2 separate regions of the Homo sapiens genome follow, and region 1 is linked to region 2. Evidence: promoter capture Hi-C in 16 types of primary human blood cells and fetal thymus (Javierre and others, 2016). All regions are on one chromosome and are shown on one strand. Each heading gives the region's core, a stretch centred on a gene start or on the middle of the fragment in contact. The rest is flanking DNA. Distances are from core to core; before and after follow the strand shown.

What was found. Contacts are between HindIII fragments. The CHiCAGO score rates a contact against its expected background, and 5 or more counts as called.
Region 1: a contact is called between a fragment that was not itself captured here and the fragment with the promoter of PPP2R1B in region 2, in 3 of 17 cell types (naive CD4 T cells, fetal thymus and naive CD8 T cells). The highest score is 6.2, in naive CD4 T cells.

What each region holds. Positions count from the first base shown.
Region 1 is chr11:111,525,431-111,530,705 of GRCh38, reverse strand. All of the region lies in intron 3 of HOATZ (HOATZ cilia and flagella associated protein), which reads right to left. Among named protein-coding and RNA genes, the nearest start is that of LAYN, 13 kb to the left of the region's middle. The HindIII fragment of the contact is 5,067 bases long and covers 1-3,783 here.
Region 2 is chr11:111,763,945-111,769,115 of GRCh38, reverse strand. It overlaps PPP2R1B (protein phosphatase 2 scaffold subunit Abeta), which reads left to right and starts at 2,727. Exons shown (of 15, transcript NM_002716.5): 1 at 2,727-2,868; 2 at 3,732-3,822; 3 at 4,211-4,311. The coding sequence starts at 2,755. It also overlaps a transcript of ALG9 not described here. RefSeq lists enhancers at 2,662-2,711, 2,732-2,911, 2,798-3,701. The HindIII fragment of the contact is 3,920 bases long and covers 2,021-5,171 here.

The sequences.
Region 1 (5,275 bases), core at 1-2,500, 240 kb after region 2:
TAGTGTTTTGGTTGGGCTTATTAATGGAATTTTATAAGACTTTATAATTATTCAATTAACTGTTAATACAAGGGGGTCAGAATTTATCTTTATAACATCTTTGACCATTGACTAGTGACTTATATTTATATTTTTATTTATGATTTATATTTATACTATTCCTGAAAAAATAAATTGTGAAAGAAAACTGATTCCAGAAAATTAGGATGTGATATAACATATACATTTAATGTGTTATAGATGGTTAATGAATTTTAATGTCACCTCAAGAGTTAAATTGTCTGGTTCTCTCTTTTTGGCTTTTCAGAGCCAAATGACTTGAGTGGCAATATGTATTAGTAGAGTCAAATACATTTGGTTTGAATCCCAGTTCCGCTGTGTGTTGAATGGCAAGTTCTAGCTTAACTCTCCCGCCTGGTTCCTCCTTTCCCCACCACAACTATGCAGTAATCACTGACATGTAAGTTAGAGCTTCGTGATCTTAGGTAAACCAAAGAATCCACAATCCCAGTTGTGGATTTCTAATCTGTGAGGAAGGTTGTTGTGAAAATTGGAGATAAAAATTACTTAATGAAATGCATGACAGATGGTGAACATTTAATAAATGGTAGTTATTATAACACTATTATTATTAGAAAATTTTTCTTTCAGTGCTTTTAAAATCTTGAAAAGAGTAAGAAAAAAGAGGACAGATTGTCTGCTTTTTGTCTACAGGCATGAAGGAATTCTTACGATTCAACCTCTGACCTATGGGTCAGTTGGTGAATACAGTTTGAGGGAGGAAAGGAGAAACAAGGAGAGATGTTAAAGATATGATTTGTTATTAAATATGCAGTGCAAATTCTTCTGACCACGAATTTTCTGGTGTGTTATCAACTTTCTTTTCAGTTAATATTCAATTATAAAAAAAGCTCTTAATAAACACTAGACTTTAGAAGAAAGGTCCTTTCTTCTCAAGACCTGGTTCCCATATACAAACTGCATTTCTTTCGTGGATTATGATTGAAATTTTTGGACTGAAACATTCATCAAAAATAACACGAGGGGCCGGGTGCGGTGGCTCATGCCTGTAATCTCAGCATTTGGGAGGCTGAGGCAAGAGGATCATGAGGTCAGGAGTTCGAGACCATCCTGGCCAATATGGTGAAACCCCGTCTCTGCTAAAAATACAAAAATTAGCTGGGTGTGGTGGTGCACGCCTGCAGTCCCAGCAACTCGGGAGGCTGAGGCAGGAGAATCGCTTGAACCCAGGAGGCGGAGGTTGCAGTGAGCCGAGATTGCACCACTGCACTCCAGCCTGGCGACAGAGTGAGACTCTGTCTTAAAAAAAAAGAAAAAGATTAAGAGAAAATAATATGAGTCTCATTTTAACACTATGAGCAAGCCAATCTTCTGTCTTTTAATCAGGATGTGGATACTTGAGTGATCATGCCTTTAGTAATCTAGTCATCATCCTTTGAGAGTTACCCTTTTAGTCAAAGCATTTCCATTTAATGCTAATGCTTATTTTGAACCTGCTAAAATTTTATTTTTCAATCATGGGTTTGGAAAAAAAAGGAAGAGGGGGAAGCAGAGAAGATAAAAACAAACTTTCACTGAGTAACTGCTAGATATCAGGCCTTGTGTGAGTTCCTTATAGGTTATCTCATTTTATCTTTATAGCACAGTGAAGTGGGCATTATTATTATTACCTCTTTACAGGTAGAAGAAACTAAACCACGTAAAAATGAACAACTTTTATCAGGGTCACTTAACTAACTAGTAACTGGCAGAGCCAAAGATTTAAACTCATTTCCAGTTCTGTTGGATGTCATTTCCTGTGCTTCTTTTGCCACACTTCAAACACACAGACTTCAAACACACACAGACTTCAGACACATGCACACACACACACACAGAGTGACAGAATGGTTTCTTCATTCAATCTTTACTCTAAAAATGAGTTAGCATCAACCATGCTGAAGAAGAAAAATATAGTCTCTGCTCTCACAGAAACATTCTTATTCTTGTAGAAAACGCATGCTTATCAGAATACAGCAGGTGGAGCTAATCCAGCTTGAGCTCAGCCTTGATCATAGTTAATTTACTTATTTGAAGGTATCATGTGGCTCTTTGCAAGATGTGGCTAAAGGGTAAAGATAGTTGAATTATAGTGGTATTTATAAACTGAGGAGCTTTCTAAGATCGTAGTGTAAATGAAATATTTATGCAAGGATTTTAAATTATAAATTAATTGTAAAATGGGAATTACATTCCAAATTCAGAATATTACCTAGGCAGAGCCAAGGTTCTATGGTTTAACAGAAATTGAGAACATTATCTGATTTTTATTTCCTTGAGCCTCCAGAATTTAATTTTCTTTTTTTTGAGACAGGGTCTTGCTCTCCACTCAGGTGGAAGTGCAGTGGCACCATCAGGGCTCACTGCCACCTCCACCTCCTGCCCCCTGGGCTCAAGCAATCCTCCCACCTCAGCCTCCCAAGTAGTTGGGACCACAGGCACATGCCACCACGCTTAGTTAATTAAAAAACGATTTTTTTTTTTTTGGTAGAGATGAGGTCTCCCTGTGTTGCCTAGGCTAGTCTTGAACTCCTGGGCTCAAGCCAGTCTCCCACTTTGGTCAGCCTCCTGAAGTGCTGGGATTGCAGGCATGAGCCACCATACCTAGCCTTAATTTTTAATTCTATCCCAGTGATTGAGAGTTAACTGTCTATAGGTGTACTAGGGAATTTCAGTTCACATTCTGCAAGAATCTCACTCCTCAGTGGGTTCCATTTCATTTTTATGTTACAAATGCAATCATTAGGAAGGTGAGAATTATGATTGACTTAAGGTTTTTATTGATTTATCATTTTAAAACATCTCATATTTGGGCCTGGTTTCAAAAAGCAGTATGCATCTTGGCTTGCTGATTTTGATAACAGAATGCTTCAACTATGAATTTACTCTATGAATTTACTACCATTCCCTGTGCCTATTAACTGAAATCTGCTATGTTGATTCTACAACTACCATATAGGAAATTTATATCTACTCTAATAATAAGATACAGAACTGTTGGACCTCAAATTATCTACTATGCACTTTAAAAGACAGGCTGAATAATCAGTGAGAAGGCTTTCCCCAGTATAATCTGATTTTAAAAGATAGACCTAACTATAGTAATCTATGGGAGTGGATCGAAGATGTTACAGGATTATTAATCAGAGAAAGGAAGAATGCTGACTTGCAGGAAAAAGATGCAGATCTAAGCACCTTTCTATACCTCCTGGAAATTGCTTGATCTTGGCTCAACTCCTAGGTCTGACATATACACTTTTCATTTGAAAAATAACAACTTACTAAAATGAGAAAAAAAATTAGTCATTATATAAGAGGGAGTCAATACAATTTTTCTTAAATGCAGATTTCAATCAAGTATGAATTTATCTGTTGTGAGGAAGAAAAAAATGTGTATTTTCTTGGTTCTGTTACATATATTTTCTTAGATCTGTTACATATATTTTACCAATAATAATTGCCTGAAGAACGTACATGCATGCACACACAAAATGCATGCAGAGCAGAAGTACAAGTGATTTAAAAAACTGCTTTAATATTGCTTTAAAAGGCACTTATTTTAAAAAAGTAATAAGTGAGATTTGTATTTTAATATTGAGAAAATATGAGCATAAAATGAGCACTGCATTTTAAAATTCAACAAAGTATACATATATTGAGGGTAACTCTATATGATTGAATTATATGTTATTGATGATTCAGTTTGCAATAATTATCAAAGCTTTTCCTTAGCAAAGACTACTGAGTCTTGAAGATTTTCATTGTTGCTGGTTATATGAGCTATGATGAGTGGGTGAATGATACTGACCTCATCTTTCAGATATGTCTTTCCTGTTCTGCCCATAATGACTTAAGAAGGAGAGGTTAGGGATTCCCCACACAGATGACCTCAAACTTCATCTCTGGCTCATACTTCTTCTTTGAGTTTCTAGCCCATATATTCACAGGCCTATCTGACAGTTCACCTGCTTTTCTCAAAAGCATCTCAAACTAGGTAAGTCTAAACTAAACTTGTAGCCCCTCCCCCACAAAACCCCCCAAACCTGATCTTCATCTAATGTTTCCTGTTTCAGAGAATGACACTACCCATCCTGTTAGGCAAGCGGCCAGAAAACTGAGTTATCTTTGATACTTTGCTGTACCTCACCTCCCATATCCAGTATATAACCCTAAATACTAGTTATTTTACTTCCTAACTATCCCTTCAATCTATCTGGTCTTTCTCATCTACCTGCATGATCCTAATTCACATCGCATCACCTCCTGACTGAAGTTTTGTGATGGCCTCCAGTCTGGTTTTTCCACTTCTGCTCTGGCCACTTTCAATACATTCTCCATATTACAGTCTGCTGATCTTTCTCAAGCAAATGTGATATTCTCATTCCCCAATTTAAACCCTTCAGTAGCTTCTTACTGTTCTTACTGGAGCCTAACCTTCCTCCCATATTACCACATTGGCCATTGAGCTTTTGACATGTGCGGTGCCTGTTCCCAGAAGAGGGTCTTTGCACATGCTGTTTTCGCTGCCTGGAATGCTCTTCCAATGTTCCCTCCACCACCTCCTTCTGACCTAGTTAATGCCCGCTCTTCCTTCAAATCTCAGTCTGGTTAATCTTTGTAGAAATCCTCCCTGATTCCCTTGATTGGATCAATACCACCCTATTAAGTTATCCTAACATCACTGTAATTCTTTCAGAAATATTTATCTCCCTGATTAGACTCCAAATTTCATATAAGGGCAGAGTTCGTGTCTTTGACCCATTTCCCATTTGCCCCAAGAACACTGTGCTGGCAGTGAGCTGCACTTCTTTTTTCTAAATGGGAAATAGGTTAAAACATGTTTTGTTGTCATTGTCCATCATTGTATGCCAGTTCCTAGCACAATGCCAGGCACATAGAAGTGCTCAATAAATATTTGTTGAATGAATCTTGCACAATTCTTCCAAATAAAATTCTCCCATCTTTTGGGCCCATGATTCATCTTACTGTTTATGGCTTTGCTTGGCCCTTCTTGCCTGAACTTGACATTGCCTTTTCAGTGTTGACCTCTAACTTGCCTAGATTTCTTCTGAAGCCTACAGAGTTTTCAGTTGCTTCTGGCCAACATTCTGTAGAGTTCAGCTTGGCTCCATGATTTCAGTGCAGGGCGCCCACATGTCTGGAGTAAAACCTAAACAATGTCCAATCCAACCTCACACATACAGACTAATGTCTA
Region 2 (5,171 bases), core at 1,478-3,977:
ATGGCTGGTCTTGAACCCGTGAGCTCAAGTGATCCATCATGTGCACCACTGCCCCAGGTGACTTTTTACATAAAGTATAAGAAAACAGATTCCTCCTCTCAATGCCTACAGGAATCCCCTCTGATCTTCTAACTGGTAAAGTACTAAGTTAAAAAAACCTCTTAGCCCTCTGTCTCTCCAAGTTGGGTAGTATTAAATATATGAATCCATTTTTAGCCTGGGCAGCATGGTGAGACTCTGTCTCCATACACACACACACACACACACACACACGCACACACACACACGAAGCTGGATGTGGTGGCACATGCCTATAGTCCTAGCTACTCAGGAGGCTGAGGCTGGAGGATTGCTTGAGTCCAGGAGTTTAAGGTTACAGTGAGCTATGATTGTGCCACTGCACTCCAGCCTGGGAAACGCAGCAAGACCCTGTTTGTTAAACACACACACACACACACACAACACAATAATTTTTTAAAATCCTGAAAACTCTCAGTTAAGTCATTATTATTATTATTTTAGAGATGGGGGTCTTGCTGTGTTGTCTAGGATGGTCATGAACCCCTAGGCTCAAGTGATCCTCCCACCTCAGCCTCCCAAGTAACTGGGAAGACAGGCACGCGTTACCATGTTTAGCTAAATTGTTTTTATTATGCTGTGGTTATTTAAATTTACGAATATAAAGTAGGAAAAATGTGCTTTTATTTCTAGTTCTTACACAGCTAAAAAAAAACCACAACAAATTTACAAATTAAATACAAATGAAACCACAAAATGAATACTATTCAATTAAAAATATTATAGTAATTTAACGTGACAAATGATGTATTTTGCTAAAACTGTCATCCGTCGTATTGTTACTATGGTGTTGCCTGCTATAGCTCAGCTTCTTTTGTGTTCAACATGCCTATGCCACCAAGTGACTCCTGATATCTTAATTTTCTCACCATTTTTCTGTTACAACTACCAAATAGTGCAATCTCATGATGCATTTGGCTTTCATTTTGTGCATGAAAGTATCATTGTCATTTTAAAACCACCTCTGTTCTTTTCTCATTATCCCAGAACAATAAAAGCAGCACTAAAACACACATGTAAATGTGGGTGCTGAAATTGTGTGGCAATACTTGGTTGTAAGGTGGTCACCCAAATAATTCAGAATATGCTTATACAAATCTAAAAAATATGAAAATGAAAATAAAATTAAAACCCTAGAGAATACATTCGCAGACATAATTTGAGAAAAACTGTTCAGGTCTGCTGGTTCCCAAACTTTCATTACTATCAAAGGCTCTAGCTATTGTGCTTACTTCCAAGAACCCCATTTATTTATTTATTTATTTATTTATTTATTTATTTATTTATTCATTATTTCATTCATTCATTCAAAGGCTCTATTGTGCTTACTTCCAAGAACGCTATTTATTTATTTATTTATTTTAGAGACGGGGTCTCACTCTGCCGCCCAGATTGGAGTACAGTGGTGCGATCCTGGCTCACTGCAACCTCTGCCTCCCGGGCTCAAGCGATTCTCATGTCAGCCTCCCGAGTAGCTGGGACTACAGGCTCCCGTCACCAGCCCAGCTAATTTTTGTATTTTTTAGTGGAGACAGGGTTTCACCAAGTTGGCCAGGCTGGTCTCGAACTCCTGGCCTCAAGTGATCCGCCCGCCTCGGCCTCAGAATCCCATGTTTTAAAAAAGTTTGTCTCCTACACTGCATTTATAGTTTTATTAATCAGGCACATAGAATTACCATTTCGGAGCTTGTGATCACCATATGTAGTTATCACTCCAAGCTGCTTAAATTCCAGTCTAAAACAAACAAAACATTCTAATTATTCTGTGCTACCCTGACAGGGGTAAGTGAAAACTTTCCATTCAGGTTTGTAAGAACGAGCTCCCAGACCTCCACCTCTTCCCCTTGCTGCCTCTGAGGACTCTTGGAGGTCTAGGGAGGCCAGTTTGGGTTTTCTTGCTCAAGAAAGTAGCCACCCCACCCAATTTGGAAGGATTAAAGCTTGTCCTAGTTTTGCTTCATTGTTGTACTTCTAGCATGCTAAAGAGCTAAAAAATGGGAGGAAGAAAATACAACAGAAGGCACCATTCCAGTACCAAACTGAAAAGAAACACAAAAACAAGAGAGCAGCATGTTTTTAACAGCTTGCGTGGAAAAAATATTGACTGGGGAGTTTGGACAGCACTGTTCATTTTCTCTCACCGCCCGCGTTATTTGTCTTACGGAGCAGGAGCCAGATACCATTCTGGAGAAAGAGCCGCGGGAAGAGGTGGAGGGGTTCTGTGGAAGTTTGAGTCTGAGCGGAGAAATTAGGGCTGGAGATCCAGTGGCTCAGGGCCAGGAAGAAGTCAGGGGAGGTGCTAAAGCCTTTTTCCTCCTGGCCTCGGGCACTCTCTTTGGTCCGCCTGAGTCTTAAGAGGGCACAGCGCAGATCATTCAGGTAGGTTCCTGGCTCCTTCAGACTACAACGAGCTGGATGAATCCCTGTCCCTGTTTCTTTCGGCTGGGGAAAGGACGCAGGGGTTCCATTCGCTTTCTTAGCCCACCCGTCTTCTTGAGTTCAGACCTACAACTCCTGCAGTGGGGGTCAGAAGGGAGCCTTAATCATCGGGACAGAAACGCGGCTCCCCAACTTCGGCTAAACCAGCGTGGCGGCCTTCGTCCCTACTGCCTGGGCGCGGGGCGGGGCCTGGGCGCGGGGCGGGAGGCGGTGACCAGCAGCAGGAGGAGAAAGAACATGGCGGGCGCATCAGAGCTCGGGACCGGCCCAGGAGCAGCGGGTGGAGATGGAGATGATTCGCTATACCCGATCGCGGTTTTAATCGACGAGCTCCGCAATGAAGACGTGCAGGTACTGGACTGAGGCCGGGGACCCGAGGCGAGACCGGCTGGTCGCGTGGTAGAGAAGGGGGAAGGCCTGCGTCGCGGTGGGGGTGGCCGAGGTACTGAATGAGTCGGACTCGTAGCAGAAACTTGAAGGGGAGGCGGGGAATGCTCCGCGAGGGGCTGTGGTGACACGCCCCGACCCTCCCGGGTACCTCTCTAGTAACCTTGCTTCGGACCCCCTGAGGCGTCCGCCCGGAGCCTTGCCCTTCCCGGGCGGTTGTCGGGGAACCCGCTTCCCGCCTGGGCGCCCCATCCGGGCCGTGAGGTGGCCGCGTCTCTTGGGCGAGGGAGCAGGAGAAGCGCGGTGCCAGGCCGAGACGGGGCTGGAGCGGCTGAGGGGCGCAGGATGCCCAGAAGCCCTTTGAAGTGCCCCTGGATCCCTTCATCTCGGCTTGGAACTGGCTCGGCTTGTTGGGTAGAAAGCGGGGGTGGGATGGCCGATTAATCTGGACGAGTAGTGTATCCGCTCTGTGGGAACTTTTCTTTGAAACCACAGGTGTTGTATTCAACCGTTTCACCTGCTTCACCACTGCCAAAGTGCTCTCTTTTTAAAATTATCTTACTTCCTAGGTGTTGTATTGTCTTTCCTTCATTTCTCTTCCGGTCCCTTCTGAGTGTTTCTCCTGGGAAATCCTCCGCCGGCTAGTGAGGCCGAGTTACACTTCTTTTTGGAAGTCCTTATGAGCTTCCTTAACAGTAAAATCTAAATGAAAGGTTATCTTCATTCTTACCCCTGTGTCATAATTTCACCTGTTAGCACCTTTTGTCTTTTGATCTAAATTCAGCCGTTTCTTTACATTGTTCTTCTTTCTACTTTCTTTTCTGAAGCTCCGACTCAACAGTATTAAGAAGTTATCAACAATTGCCCTAGCACTTGGAGTAGAAAGGACCCGAAGTGAATTGTTGCCATTTCTTACAGGTATGTGAATCTTTGTTTAAAGAAAGGTAGGGACATTCCATTTTCCAGTAGCTTTCAACACTGACTTTTTTAGAGTTTATTACCCACATTAAAATGAGCCAGGTGTTTTTTGTGCAAAAGAAACAGAACAGAGTATATTGTTAGTTGTGGCTAGATATATTCAAACATCAACCATTTAGCTATTGAAAGTAATTGATACGGGAGTATGAATTTCTAATTCGTTGTGCAAAGCAGATACAGGAAGACGGTTGAGAAGAAAGAAAATGCTGTTAGGATTTTGACTGGGTCACCTTCCTGGTCGCATAGTGAATCTGTTCCTAGTTTTGTGTCAGTGTCCAGCTGTGGGAGAGCTATCCATGTTGATGAGTCCTGTTGTTGTCACTTCCAGATACAATTTATGATGAAGATGAGGTACTATTAGCTCTTGCTGAGCAGCTGGGAAATTTCACTGGCCTAGTGGGAGGTCCTGACTTTGCCCACTGTCTGCTGGTGAGTATTTATAAGCTGCCTACCCTCCTTCTACAACTTTTGCAGTATAAATGATACATTGTTTGGTGATAGACACACTGCAGCATTTTTTATGCAGATCTTTTTATGGGCAGATAGTCATAATGTTAGTCATTGAGAGAATAAGTACTGTAGGCACTTTGCACTCAACTCCTTTTTTTTTTTTCTGTAAATAAGAGAACTTCGTCCTCCTTTTCTGCGTCTGTAGACTTATTAGTTTAGATGTAGGGAGAAAAAGGGTTTGATTGTTTTTATGGTTCCCCCGCGCGATGGTGGAAGTTTTAATTCTCACCTAGCAGCATTTTGTCTTTGTCAGTTTAACTTTTGCTTCTGACTTTGTGAGTTTGATGAATTTAGTTCAATTTAATTGACATTTATTGAGAGTCTACTTTATCAGACACATCATAGTTTACAATGTTAATGTTGAAGAAGACCAATGTGAGGGGGCTTGGTGGCACAAGCCTGTAGTACCAGCTACTCAGGAGGCTGAGACTGGAGGATCACTTGAGCCCAGGAGTTTGAATCCAGCCTGGGCAACATAGTGAGACCCCCATCTCTTAAAAAAAAAAAAAGACCACCAAAATGAATCTAATGAGGTCACTGCCTTTATGTGTCAGCAAATAATTACCGTGCAGTCGTAAATGGAAAGATATAAGTACCCACAAAATACCCACGTAATAGAAGGGAGAAAGGGATTCACTCCGGGTGATCAGGGAAGACCTTGGGAGATGATGTCTGAACTAGGTTTTAAAGGATGACCAGGAATTCAACAGTTGGACAAGGTAGGGGTGTATGTGTCAGAGCTTTGAATACTGGGTATGTAATACTGATTCTTGTGATTT